2 separate regions of the Homo sapiens genome follow, and region 1 is linked to region 2. The links are contacts of gene promoters, found by promoter capture Hi-C in human tissues and cell types (Jung and others, 2019). All regions are on one chromosome and are shown on one strand. The core of a region is centred on a gene start or on the middle of the fragment in contact, and the rest is flanking DNA. Distances in the headings are between cores, read along the strand shown.

What was found. The method cuts DNA at HindIII sites, captures the fragments that hold promoters and counts their contacts. A contact is called where the count stands out against the background at its distance.
Region 1: a fragment that was not itself captured here is called in contact with the fragment with the promoter of DNAH5 in region 2 in 2 of the 25 tissues and cell types used here (small bowel and stomach).

Annotation. Positions count from the first base shown.
Region 1 is chr5:13,850,085-13,856,600 of GRCh38, forward strand. It overlaps DNAH5 (dynein axonemal heavy chain 5), which reads right to left. Exons shown (of 79, transcript NM_001369.3): 31 at 568-731. Among named protein-coding and RNA genes, the nearest start is that of DNAH5-AS1, 7.1 kb to the right of the region's middle. The HindIII fragment of the contact is 3,933 bases long and covers 2,313-6,245 here.
Region 2 is chr5:13,942,383-13,949,179 of GRCh38, forward strand. It overlaps DNAH5 (dynein axonemal heavy chain 5), which reads right to left and starts at 2,306. Exons shown (of 79, transcript NM_001369.3): 1 at 2,000-2,306. The coding sequence starts at 2,056. The HindIII fragment of the contact is 17,200 bases long and covers 1-6,657 here.

The DNA of each region.
Region 1 (6,516 bases), core at 3,029-5,528, 90 kb before region 2:
TAACTTCCTTAAGTGTCAATGTACACTTAGCATATTACTATGTAACATATTTCTACTTACATTATTTTATTGTGATTAACCAAAGGAAAAAAAAACAAACAAAAAAACTTTATGACTCTTGGAATTCACAACGCTTCTGTACACATAAATGTGTGTGTAGATAGATATTAGACACTTTTTAATATAATCCTGACTGCATGTATATACTAAACACTGTTTCATATAATGAGTATAATAAAATATGTTGGTTCTATAAATGTTTATTCAAGAAGAATGTCAGAAAATAGGTGTATTAATTTTTTAAAGCAGGGACTGTATGAGGATGTTTATACAGTCTTATCCCAGTGATGGAAGCAACCTTAAGTCCTATGAGTCCAACATCAGGACAAATCTAGCAAGTCTTTGATGAGAATATAAGGCTTCAAAATATCAGTTTCATCTGTGCAACAGCTTTATATATAAATTCAGCCTTAGCAAAAGAAAACAAATTTGGCTAATGCTATCTAGTCTCCCTGTATCCTTTTGTCTCAAGGATACCGAGAGCTTTCAAAGAGCCAGTGAACTTACCCAGTAAGGGATTTCTGGCATATTTCCAACTGGTCCAGCAAGTGTGGTAACAGCTGCCCCAGGGTCTCATCTCCAACACAGCACTGGACTACACTGGGCACTTCATGTGCCCGAGTCATGATCTTCACCCAAGATTTATCTATGTTAGAAAACCGCTTGGCTTCCTATGAGAACAAGGTAACAAAGCACACTTAGATTTGGACACATCTGTGATCCCAAAGACAGTATCTCACATTCCTCCAGCTGAGGCTAGAGCTTTAACCAGTCCAGATATCCAAGCAATATATGCCTAATGTCACACACATTTTATTGAAGTTCTTATTGGGCTTTCTGTGCCATATCATCCCCTGTATTAAGTAAGCATCCTTAGCTCAACCTTGGTACTCCCATTATGTTAAGTTACAACAAGAAATGAATACAAAAGTAATAATACAATTCAAGGAAATATGAAAAGAAAGTACACACATTTCTTTTCACAGGTTATCTCTAAATGAAGTACATTTCCTATTTTTATATTTTCTCTATTGAGCACTGGATTGTTTATGTAGAAAAAATATTTAAAAATAAAGATACAAAATTAATTCCAGTATAACTGGAATATTGTAAAAAAATTTAATGGAAAATGCACAGATTATCTTGAGAGGGCAGGAATCATATAAATTTTCTTCCTTTTTTAAGACAGGTCTCACTCTGTTGTCCAGGCCAGAGTGCAGGTGCTCGGTCACAGCTCACTGCAGCCTTGATTTCCTGGGCTCAAGTGATTCTCCTACCTCAGCCTCTCCAGCATCTGGGACTACAGGCATGTGCCACCATGCCTAGCTAAATTTTTTTTATTTTTTGTAGAAACTGGGTTTCATCATGTTGCCCAGGCTGGTCTTGAACTCCTGGGCTCAAGCAGTCTTCCCACCTCAGCCTCCCAAAGTGCTGGGATTACAAGCATGAGCCACTGCACCCGGCCCCAAATTTTCATTTTCTTCTTTAAAGCTTTCTGTATGTCACCAATGAGTATATACCATCAAATATGAAAGGAAGAAACAACACCTAGCACCTTAAATATTCTACATGAAAATTTCTAAGTCCAATTTTAGATTCTTCTTCATCCATTAAAAAGAAAAACATGGGAATCCTGGGCAAGATGGCCGAATAGGAATAGTTCCACCCTGCAGCTCCCAGCAAGATCAACACAGAAGGCAGATTATTTCTGCATTTCCAGCTGAGGTACCTGGCTCATCTCATTGGGACTGGTCAGACAGTGGGTGCAGCCCACGGAGGGCAAGTAGAAGCGGGGTGGGGCGTTGCCTCACCTGAGAAGTGAAAAGGTTTGGGGAACTCTCCCCCGAGCCAAGGGAAGCCATGAGGTACCATGCTGTGAGGGACACTGCTATCTGGCCCAGATACTATGCTTTCCCCATCTGCAGACCAGGAGATTCCCTCAGGTGCCTACCCCACAAGGGCCTGGGTTTCAAGCACAAAATTCGGTGGCCGTTTGGGTAGACACTGAGCTAGCTGCAGTTTTTTTTGTTTTTTGTTTCTGTGATGGAGTTTCGCTCTTTTTGCCCAGGCTGGAGTGCAACGGTGTGATCTCAGCTCACTGCAACCTCCGCCTCCCAGGTTCAAGCGATTCTCCTGCCTCAGCCTCCTGAGAAGCTGGGATTACAGGCATGTGCCACCATGCCTGGCTAATTTTGTATTTTTAGTAGAGATGGGGTTTCTCCATGTTGGTCAGGCTGGTCTCGAACTCCCGACCTCAGGTAATCTGCCCACCTCAGCCTCCCAAATTGCTGGGATTACAGGCGTGAGCCACCACGCCCAGCCAGTTTATTTTTTTTTTCGTACCCTAGTGGCACCTGGGATGCCACTGAGGCAGAACCATTCACTCCCCTGGAAAGGGGGCTGAAGCCAGGTAGCCAGGTGGTCTTGCTCAGTGGATCCCATCCCCACAGAACCCAGCAAGCTAAGATCCACTGGCTTGAAATTCTCACTGGCAGCACAGCAGTCTGAAGTCGACCGGGAATGCTCCAGCTTGGTGGGGGGAGGGGGGTCCACCATTACTGAGGCTTGAGTAGGCGGTTTTTCCCTCACAGTGTTAACAAAGCCGCAAAGAAGTTCAGACTGGGCAGAGCCCACTGCAGCACCACAAAGCTGCTGTAGCCAGACTGCCTCTCTAGATTCCTCCTCTCTGTGCAGGGCATCTCTGAAAAAAAGGCAGCAGCCTCAGTCAAGGCTTATAGATAAAACTCTCATCTCCCTGGGACAGAGCGCCTGGGGGAAGGGGCAGCTGTGGGGTACAGCGTCAGAAGACTTAAACATTCCTGCCTGCCAGCTCTGAAGAGAGCAGCAGATCTCCCAGCACAGGGCTCGAGCTCTGCTAAGGGACAGACTGCCTCCTCAAGTGGGTCCCTGACCCCGTGCTTCCTGACAGGGAGACACTTCCCAGCAGGGGCCAACAGACACCTCATACAGGAGAGCTTCAGCTGACATCTGGCAGGTGCCCCTCTCAGACAAAGCTTCCAGAGGAAGGAGCAGGCAGCAATCTTTGCTGTTCTGCAGCCTCCGCTGGTGATACCCAGGCAAACAGGGTCTGGATTGGAACCCCAGCAAACTCCAGAAGACCTGCAGAAGACGGGCCTGTCTGTTAGAGGAACACTAACAAACAGGAAGCAATAGCATCACCATCAACTAAAAGGACGACCACACAAAAACTCCATCCGAAGGTCACCAACAGCAAAGACCAATGGTAGATAAATACACGAAGATGAGGAAAAACCAGCACAAAAAGACTGAAAATTCCAAAAACCAGAATGCCTCTTCTCCTCCAAAGGATAACAACTCCTCGCCAGCAAGGGAACAAAACTGGACAGAGAATGAGTTTGACGAATTGACAGAAGTAGGCTTCAGAAGGTGGGTAATAACAAACTCCTCCAAGCTAAAGGAGCATGTTCTAACCCAATATAAGGAAGCTGAGAACCTTGATAAAAGGTTAGAGAAATTGCTAACTAGAATAACCAATTTAGAGAAGAACATAAATGACCTGATGGAACTGAAAAACACAGCACAAGAATTTCGTGAAGCATACAGAAGTATCAATACCCAAATTGATCAAGCAGAAGAAAGGATATCAGAGATTGAAGATCAATGTAATGAAATAAAGCGTGAAGACAAGATTAGAGAAAAAATAATGAAAAGGAATGAACAAAGCCTCCAAGAAATATGAGACTATGTGAAAAGACCAAACCTACATTTGATCGATGTACCTAAAAGTGATGGGGAGAATGGATCCAAGTTAGAAAACACTCTTCAGGATATTATCCAGGAGAACTTCCCCAACCAAGCAAGACAGGCCAACATTCAAATTCAGGAAATACAGAGAACACCATGAAGATTCTCCTCAAGAAGAGCAACCCCAAAACACATAATCATCAGATTCACCAAGGTTGAAATGAAGGAAAAAATATTAAAGGCAGCCAGAGAGAAATGTCGGGTTACCCACAAAGGGAAGCCCATTAGACTAACAGTGGATCTCTCTGCAGAAACCCTACAAGCCATAAGAGAGTGGGGGCCAATATTCAACATTCTTAAAAGAATTTTCAGCCCAGAATTTCATATCCAGCCAAACTAAGCTTCATAAATGAAGGAGAAATAAAATCCTTTAAAGACAAGCAAGTGATGAGGGACTTTGTCAGCACCAGGCCTGCCTTACAAGAGCTCCTGAAGGAAGCACTAAATACAGAAAGGAAAAACCAGAACCAGCCACTGCAAAAACAAACCAAAATGTAAAGACCATTGATATTATGAAGAAACTGCATCAACTAATGGACAAAATAACCAGCTAGCATCATAATGACAGGATCAAATTCATACATAACAATATTAACCTTAAATGTAAACGGGGTAAATGCCCCAATTAAAAGACACAGACTGGCAAATTTAATAGAGTCAAGATCCATCAGTGTGCTGTATTCAGGAGACCCATCTCACGTGCAAAGACACACATAGGCTCAAAATAAAGGGATAGAGGAATATTTACCAAGCAAATGGAAAGCAAAGAAAAAGCAGGGGTTGCAATCCTACTCTCTGATAAGACAGACTTTAAACCAACAAAGATCAAAAAAGACAAAGAAGGGTATTACATAATGGTAAAGGGATCAACGCAATGAGAAGAGCTAACTATCCTAAATGTATATGCACCCGAAACAGGAGCACCCAGGTTCATAAAGCAAGTTCTTAGAGACCTACAAAGAGACTTAGAATCCCACACAATAATAGTGGGAGACTTTTTTTAACATGTTAAAGAAATGTTTAATTACAAAATTAAGCTTACACATAACCTAAAAATTTTCAAATGTACTGCATTTTATAGCATAAAAGTACAATCAGTAAAATGATTCACTAGTAATTTAATTACATTTAACTTAATTTTAAGTAAAATAAAAAATGCTTCTCTCTCACTATGATGCAGAATATTACTCTGAACACCTACCTCATGCATCACTCAATATGAAAAGTAAACTAACAAGAACCACTCCACATAGATTTTCATCATAAATCTTACATTTTTTTTTTTTTTTTTTTTTTGAGACGGAGTCTCGCTCTGTCGCCCAGGCTGGAGTGCAGTGGCGGGATCTCGGCTCACTGCAAGCTCCGCCTCCCGGGTTCACGCCATTCTCCTGCCTCAGCCTCCCAAGTAGCTGGGACTACAGGCGCCCGCCACTACGCCCGGCTAATTTTTTGTATTTTTAGTAGAGACGGGGTTTCACCGTTTTAGCCGGGATGGTCTCGATCTCCTGACCTCGTGATCCGCCCGCCTCGGCCTCCCAAAGTGCTGGGATTACAGGCGTGAGCCACCGCGCCCGGCCATAAATCTTACATTTTAATGCCCATACTCTTCAATAGTGGGAGACTTTAACACCCCACTCTCAATATTAGTCAGATCAATGTGACAGAAAATTAACAAGGATATTCAGGACTTGAACTCAGCTCTGGACCAAGCGGACCTAACAGACATCTACAGAACTCTCCACCCCAAATCAACAGAATATACAATCTTCTCAGCACCACATCATACTTATTCTAATATCGACCACATAATTGGAAGTAAAACACTCCTCAGCAAATGCAAAAGAATGCAAATCATAAAAAACAGTCTCTCAGACCACAGTGCAATCAAATTAGAACTCAAGATTAAGAAACTCACTCAAAATTGCACAACTACATGGAAACTGAACAACCAGCTCCTGAATGCCTACTGGGTAAATAATGAAATTAAGGCAGAAATAAATAAGTTCTTTGAAACCAATGAGAACAAAGACACAGTATACCAGAATTTCTGGGACACAGCTAAAGCACTGTTTAGAGGGAAATTTATAGCACTAACTGCCCACAGGAGAAAGTGGAAAAGATCTAAAATCAACACTCTAACATCACAATTAAAAGAACTAGAGAATCAAGAGCAAACAAATTCAAAAGCTAGCAGAAGACAAGACATAACTAAGATCAGAGCAGAACCGAAGGAGATAGAGACATGAAAAACCCTTCAAAAAAATCAATGAATCCAGGAGCTGGTTTTTTGAAAAGATCAACAAAACAGATAGACTGCTAGCCAGACTACTAAAGAAGAAAAGAGAGAAGAATCAAATAGATACAATAAAAAATGATAAAGGGGATATCGCCACTGATCCCACAGAAATACAAACTGCCATCAGAGAATACTATAAACACCTCTATACAAATAAACTAGAAAATCTAGAAGAAATGGATAAATTTCTTCTAGAAATTCTACCAGAGGTTCAAAGAGCAGCTGGTACCATTCCTCTTAAAACTATTCCGAACAATAGAAAAAGAGGGACTCCTCCCTAACTCATTTTATGAGGCCAGCATCATCCTCATACCAAAACCTGGCAGAGACACAACAAAAAAAGAAAATTTAGGCCAATATCTCTTATGAACATC
Region 2 (6,797 bases), core at 1,056-3,555:
TCTGGAATGTTTCCCATTGGTCATTTTCGATCATGAAGTTATAATATAATAAGCTATCTTATCAGTTGACAAACTTTCCTTGCTTGGCCAAACTTTAGTCAGGTTCCTGAATCTTCTCCTAGGCCCATCTGTACACTTCCTTGTAAAATCTAGTTTTAGCAAAGAACTCTGCTAAGTCAGTTAACAAGAACCCCTGTAGAGGGTACTCAATATCTGATCACCGTCAGTCGCTGATTGGGTTCCTCATCCTCCACCATCCCCCACGTGCTGTCTCATCCCCCTGGCCTTTCTTCAGCAAGAATCCTGGTAGGTCGTCAGTTTAGCCAGAATCCCCCTCCCCATTGATGTCTCCTCTAAGCACTTTCCTATCCACTGACCCCTGCCCTGCTCCTTGGCTACAAATCCTCACTTGGCCATGCCATATTCACAGTTGAGCCCAATCTCTCCCATCACTCCCCAGATAGGTCCTTATACCTAACACGACGGTCGTGAATAAAGTCTTACTTTACCATGCTTTACCAAGTGTCACTGAATAATTTTTTTTCTTTAACACAGTGCACTAAGTAGAAACTGTGTAATTATTTACATAATACACTGCAATACTATTAAGGTAATTCTGTTAATATTATACTTCAGTGGAGTGAACCAAACCAGCATCCTAAATATATAATTGAAACCTCCAAAAGACTTGACTTACTCTCAAAACATAGTTCATGTCAAGGAAGAATAATTCATTAATTATACCTGAGATTTTATCATCAATTGTGGTGTTTCAGACTTGGTACTGAAGCACAGGAAAAATGTTCAGACATGTGAAATGTTTAATTCATTCAACTTATTCCACAAGCATATATTAAGGACCAAGCATATACTATGGACCAAGCTCTGTGTTAAAGGAAGATTATTTTAAAATGGAGAGAACTCGCAATCTAGCAAGAGAAAGAGACATGTGGGTAAATGTCATTTCACTACAGTGATGTGACAAGGACTCTATAAGACATCGAAGGAAAGTGCTGACAGGGTACAGGAAGGAAACTCACACCTCCTCCTCAAAGTGTCAGGGGACGCTTCTCAGAGGAGGTAACACTAGCACTTGGTCTTGAAGAATAAGCAGTGCATGGACTGGCTGGAGTCAGCTCTTCCAGAATGGTCTTCTAACTCTAGCAAGCAAGTTCAGGGGCTTGGCTGCAAGACGTTCACCTTGGGAAGGATGCATCAGAATCTTGTGGCTTGGGCAAGTGAGGGGTGGCAGATGGTGGCATACTTAAAAAATTCAGAGGTAGATGCCTGCTCTTTTGTGGTAAAAACAACAGGCTAGGGGGGATCATGTGAGCTTCTGGGGATACACAAAAAGACACAGTGATCAAGCCCAGTAGGAAGCATGGGTTAATGGTTGAGAACTGAGTCCTAGAGAAACCTCCAATTTCTTCTGACGTTAATTGGCAGTGGAAGAGGTTTCCAAATCCCTCTCTATGCATTTGCATAATAAAAAGCTGCTGAGCTGAGCCCTGTGCTAGGGAAGTTCATTCTTCAATGTGATTTCCAAAGGCACAGCCTTGCATCTCACTGTCTGTGACCTCATTTGCAGGCATATAGAACAGGGGAGTGATTTCAAAGCCTAAACCTTGCAGCCTAGAATCTGCCTTAACTATTTCTAATCACCAACTAAAGTTTACAGGTTTGAAAGAATACAAAGTGCCCAAACCACTATGAATGTGTTTTTGACCCCAGGAAAGCATCTTCCCAAAAGATGCAGCATGAATTTCTAGGTGCGTAGTTTAAGCGGCAACGTGCAGAAAAGCCTACAGATGCAAAATTTTTTTTATTTAAAAAATGAATATGTAGCCTATGCACCAGGTGAACATTAGTTAAAAAATGTGTTTCTCGCAAATTCATCAGTGTGTGACTTTGAACCTTTTTCAAGTTTGTTTTTTCCACCCAGGTGTGACAGATGATAATCCAAAACACACATGCAAAGGTACAGACAACAGCACCTTACCGTTAAAACTCGAGTGACGCTATGCTTCCAGAGCTGTCTCCTCCCAATCCTAAACATTGTAGCCGTGCATGGACAGGCTGGAGTCAGCTCTTCCGGAATGGTCTTCTAACTCCTGGCAGACCTGCTCAACATCCAACAGGCTTCCAAATGGAAAGTTTTACTTCCATTTTACTTTCACGTTTCTAATTTGCATGTATTATTCACTACATTCACAGAATAAAAATTAAAACTCCACTTATACCACTCAAGTTTTTCTCCTAGAGTGTCTGCCCTGGGCCTCTCCTCTCTCTCGAAGCCTGGTGTTGTTAGGGTAATATTGTTTATACACTATACAGTTGAACCATGCCTCTTAATCATGTTTATCAAGCAATCAAAGCATTTTAACTGCTCGGTAGCAACACAACTCCTTCTGTTGTTCAATTAATTCTATTCACTGCCCAATAATAAGCATTGAGTCAACAGTGATATCTAAATAGTTTCTTTGAACAATGAGAAACTTTAAACCATATCAGATTAGAAATCCAAGAAGCCACAGCTCTGAATATATTGTCCATGTCGAGAAACTCAGTCTTACTTTGTGTAAACAACTTTGCAAGCACGATGCACTGCCAGCATTGTGACTAATTGTGACTAATTGCCAGATAGGCTAATTGTGACCCATAGGAGCCATTTTCTCCACCACAAAGAACAAGAAGTCTGTTTCATATGCAAATAGCAAACCATGTCCATAAATTACTTGTGCTCACACAGTTGCACATACACTTCAGCCAAGGTAATTTATCCTATGTGGCTAAACATCTTGATCATCTTAACTGTGAAGATGTAATGGGAAAACACTGCCAAATGCTTTGAGAGATCTCTCATGTATGGTTTCTCCCATCGAGTTGAATAAAAGGCAGGACACTTAAGGTTGGTCTTGTTGAATCTAGAATTTAGTCCTTGGAATTCACAGTCCAGCAACTCAAATCCTAAAAGGTCATCCAAGGATAATCAGGAAATTGGGAACTCATCCTGGTAACATCCTGCTAGTCAACCTCTGTGGAGCCTGACTTGGAAGGCAGGGTGCTGACATGGTTTCAGAACATGGAGATTCACTTGGTCCATATCCAATGCTAGGGCACGGACGGCCTCCATATGTCAGGTTAACAGACAACATTTAGACCTCAATATTATTTGGTAAGTAAATAACTAGAACACAGGAAGTTTAAGTTTGTTTGCAGGATTTTTTTTTTCTTTTTTGAGACCTGCAGGTCTCACTCTGTCACACAGGCTGGAGTGCAGTTGCGTGACCACCACTCACCACAGCCTCAACCTCCCAGGCTCAGGTGATCCTCCCACCTCAGCCTTCCTAGTAACTGGGACTACAGGCAAGTGTCACAACACGCGGCTAATTTTTGTATTTTTTGTAGAAACAGGTTTGGCCACATTGCCCAGGCTGGTCTCAAACTCCTGGCCTCAAGCAATTGCCCACCTCGGCCTCCCAAAGTGCTGGGATTATACGCATGAGCCACCAGGCCAGGCCCTGCAGGATATTTGTTGAAGTCAACCTCTGGTTGTTGGTAAGCGGCTGTTGTCCGTTTCTAATAAAAAGTGTTGAAGACAGTATCTAGACTCTGAGTCCCTTCTCTGTGTGGTGCTGAAGACACCAGAAAATAGCAGTAGGATCGGATCCTCCTCACATGGCATCTCCTATCCATCCCAAGAATCCTCTGTCAACACATGACCTCAGGACAAACATGTTACAATTCATTACATCGCCGATTATCTTTCATTAGTTACATTTGAATCGGTGCTTCCCTAATGGTATTTTAGGCACCATCCTCATTGCAGCAGCAGCCCATTTACAACGCATCGCTTGGGGAGAGTTACTTCCTGGGAAGATTTCCACAGATGGCTGATGGCATGCATTTTGTGTTTGGCAGGCATAACCATGACTCCCTTGAGGCTTCACAGCAAACCGGGAAGCCTTCCAGTCTGTGTGGCTGAATTTCAACCCCTCGGGCAAGGTAGATGGCGTCTTAAGGTATCTTCTTGAGCGCTCAGGCTCACTGGAAGTTGTTGAACAACACAAACAAAGCAAGCCAAGGCTGAATTTACAACAGGCCACCTACCCCCGCCAGCCCCTGCCAGAATGAAAGTCAATTTCTGGCATTTGGAGGGAAATGATCAAACATTGTTCGGTAGGAAACTCAGAAAGGCTTGCCTACAAATAGTTTCCACCAGGCAAGAGCTTCAGCTGGCAGGGCTCTATATATAGGACTCACACGAGGGAGGTCTGCAGCCCCGTCTGTGCGGATAGTACACCCTTCCAGGCTGAAAATATTGGTCATACACAAATCCTGTCAGACATAATGGGAAAACAAGAGTAGACAATGGACCTCATGTGGGCGGAAGGCTTCATCCAGAAATCCAAGTACCTGCAGGCAAAGTTTGAAGTTCCACTTTCATTCATTGAACAAAAGCTCGTGAGTGCCTTTTACGCAGCCAGACGCTGCGCTATACACTATGAATAGAACAGCTAATAAAAACAGATGTTTACTCAGACATTTAAAAATATTAATTGTAGAATGCATAATTATCCTATGCAACACTCGGAATGAAAAAATAATGCTGCCTATTCAACATATCCATTTTAAGGTGCATTCTGATTTCACAGATGTTAAAATATGAAAAATGTACATTTCATAATCAATAAAAAATGGTTATTCTTGCCTTTACTGGGGGTAGATATTAAGCAAATATATAAATAAATGTATAATGACAAGTAAAATGTTACAAATTTTGATAAGTGTCATTTTAAAAGAAAATAAGGTATAAGCTTTATGTGGACATATGTTCTGAATTGTTACCTTTACGCTTACATTCCAAAGTGTAAAATTTTCTAAACTCATCTCTAAATTATGGAGTCATCTACCCTGCATCTTGAAGCCTCGTATGTACATCCCGTTCCATATGGCTTAATAGAAAAGTGCAACTTTGGGGTCAGACAGACCTGAACTTAAATCCCAGCTATGTGACATCAGATATTTTGTCTCCTAAATTAGACGTTAGAAATAAAACCACTTACCTAAAACTGGTAATGATTTAAATATATTTAAATCTCCTAGATCCTCATAGGCACCTAATAAATGAAATATATAACCACATTTTTTATCTGCAAAAGAGTTATGACTACCATTTATGGCAATATCAATGGAGAGGACGAATTCCTAAATCTTAACCTAACCCACACATTTCAGTCGAGAGCTGGTTGAAAATTTTGCTCTCAATTTCTGAGTATGTCCTAGCAAAAGAGTGGATCCAAGTTTTATCAGTTACTAGCTACACGTTTTTCATGGATTTCCATCTTTAAGAATGTCTTACTGAGGCCCAACAGGATCAAACACATTCATCAGTTTAATAGCCTTGTAAACAATGATACAAACTACAGCATATAAAAATGGCAAATGAGTTCAGTGGGATGAGAGAGTTCCATATTTCACCCATCAAGCGCTGCACATTTGTCTTCACGCTTTACCATATTGAAATGTGGTCATTCCAAATGCAACATGATATTTCATCTTATATTCAATGCCCTCTTATAATTGCTGTTGGCCAGACAAAAATCATGACATGAGTGTCCTTACCAGAGCTTGTGCACACCCAGCTGTCACCCAAGTGGCACCACAAGGCCACAACAATACCAGGAAGTTACAGCCAACAAACCACAGAAGCTCCATGTGAGGAAGAAATGTGTGTCCCGGTTGTTTTCTAGAAATCTTCACTGTCACCTTCTGGGAAGATCCAGAAAACACCAGCACTGCAACTTGCAGGAAGGATGTTAGTAGATTGGAAGAAAATCCCAGAAGAGTCAGACCCTACATGTGAAGAAGTTTTAGAAGTTTCTTAACTAATTCATTGCACTTATCTTTGTATGGATGCATGGGGGTGATGTTTAAAAGAGCTTCAATTAAAATAAAATTGAAATTCTAAGAAAGCAATGAAGCCTAGTTTAATGGACAGGTGTTTTTCCTTCTTGGTGGTTAATGACACAGTAATGTGTTTCATCTGATAATGGATTAGGTCAGATGAATACAGTTTTGTGAGTTCTAATGATCAAAGGAAACTTTTGGAGAAGGGAGAATTTAAGGCAAGCCCTATAGAAGAATAAGATTCAAATTAGTAGATAGGAAAACTAGAGTGTAACATATGTGAAAAATTATCTTGGAGACTGGAATTCAACAGAGCCCGTCTTGTGCTGCAATTTTAAGTAAAAATGATTGATTAATCTCTGAAAGGTATGTTGAGGCTGAATGGTGGGCGTCAATCTAAGGTAGTGGGCCTTGCAGGCAATTAAGGAGTCACTGAATTAATGAAAGTCTTGTTTAGGAAGGTTATGCTGGTATTATAGCTGCACGCCGGTAAGGATGAAGTAGAGAGAGACTGAAGGCAGTCTCCTGGGCATGAAGAAATAAAGAATTCAATAGAGGGAGGTGGAAACTGTGGTCACCCAAACAACCTAAAAATGAATAAACTCGCAAGCTGAATAAAAGGGGCAAGTCTCCTTGTCTCTGTCCAATATATTGCTGCCCCTAAGCTACTCCTCTAGAGAAATCCTGGTTGAGGAAGGAATGAGAAAGAACAGATAGAACACACCAGAAAGAAAAAAAACACACACAAATAACAATGGAACTTGACAACCGGTAACAGAGAAAAGGACACCATTGTCAGAGAGGATTCCATGTTTCCCAGCTTGGGTAAAGAATCATCATAACTTAAGCAGAAGCAGAGGAATCTAGAAAAAGTACATTTTGGAGAC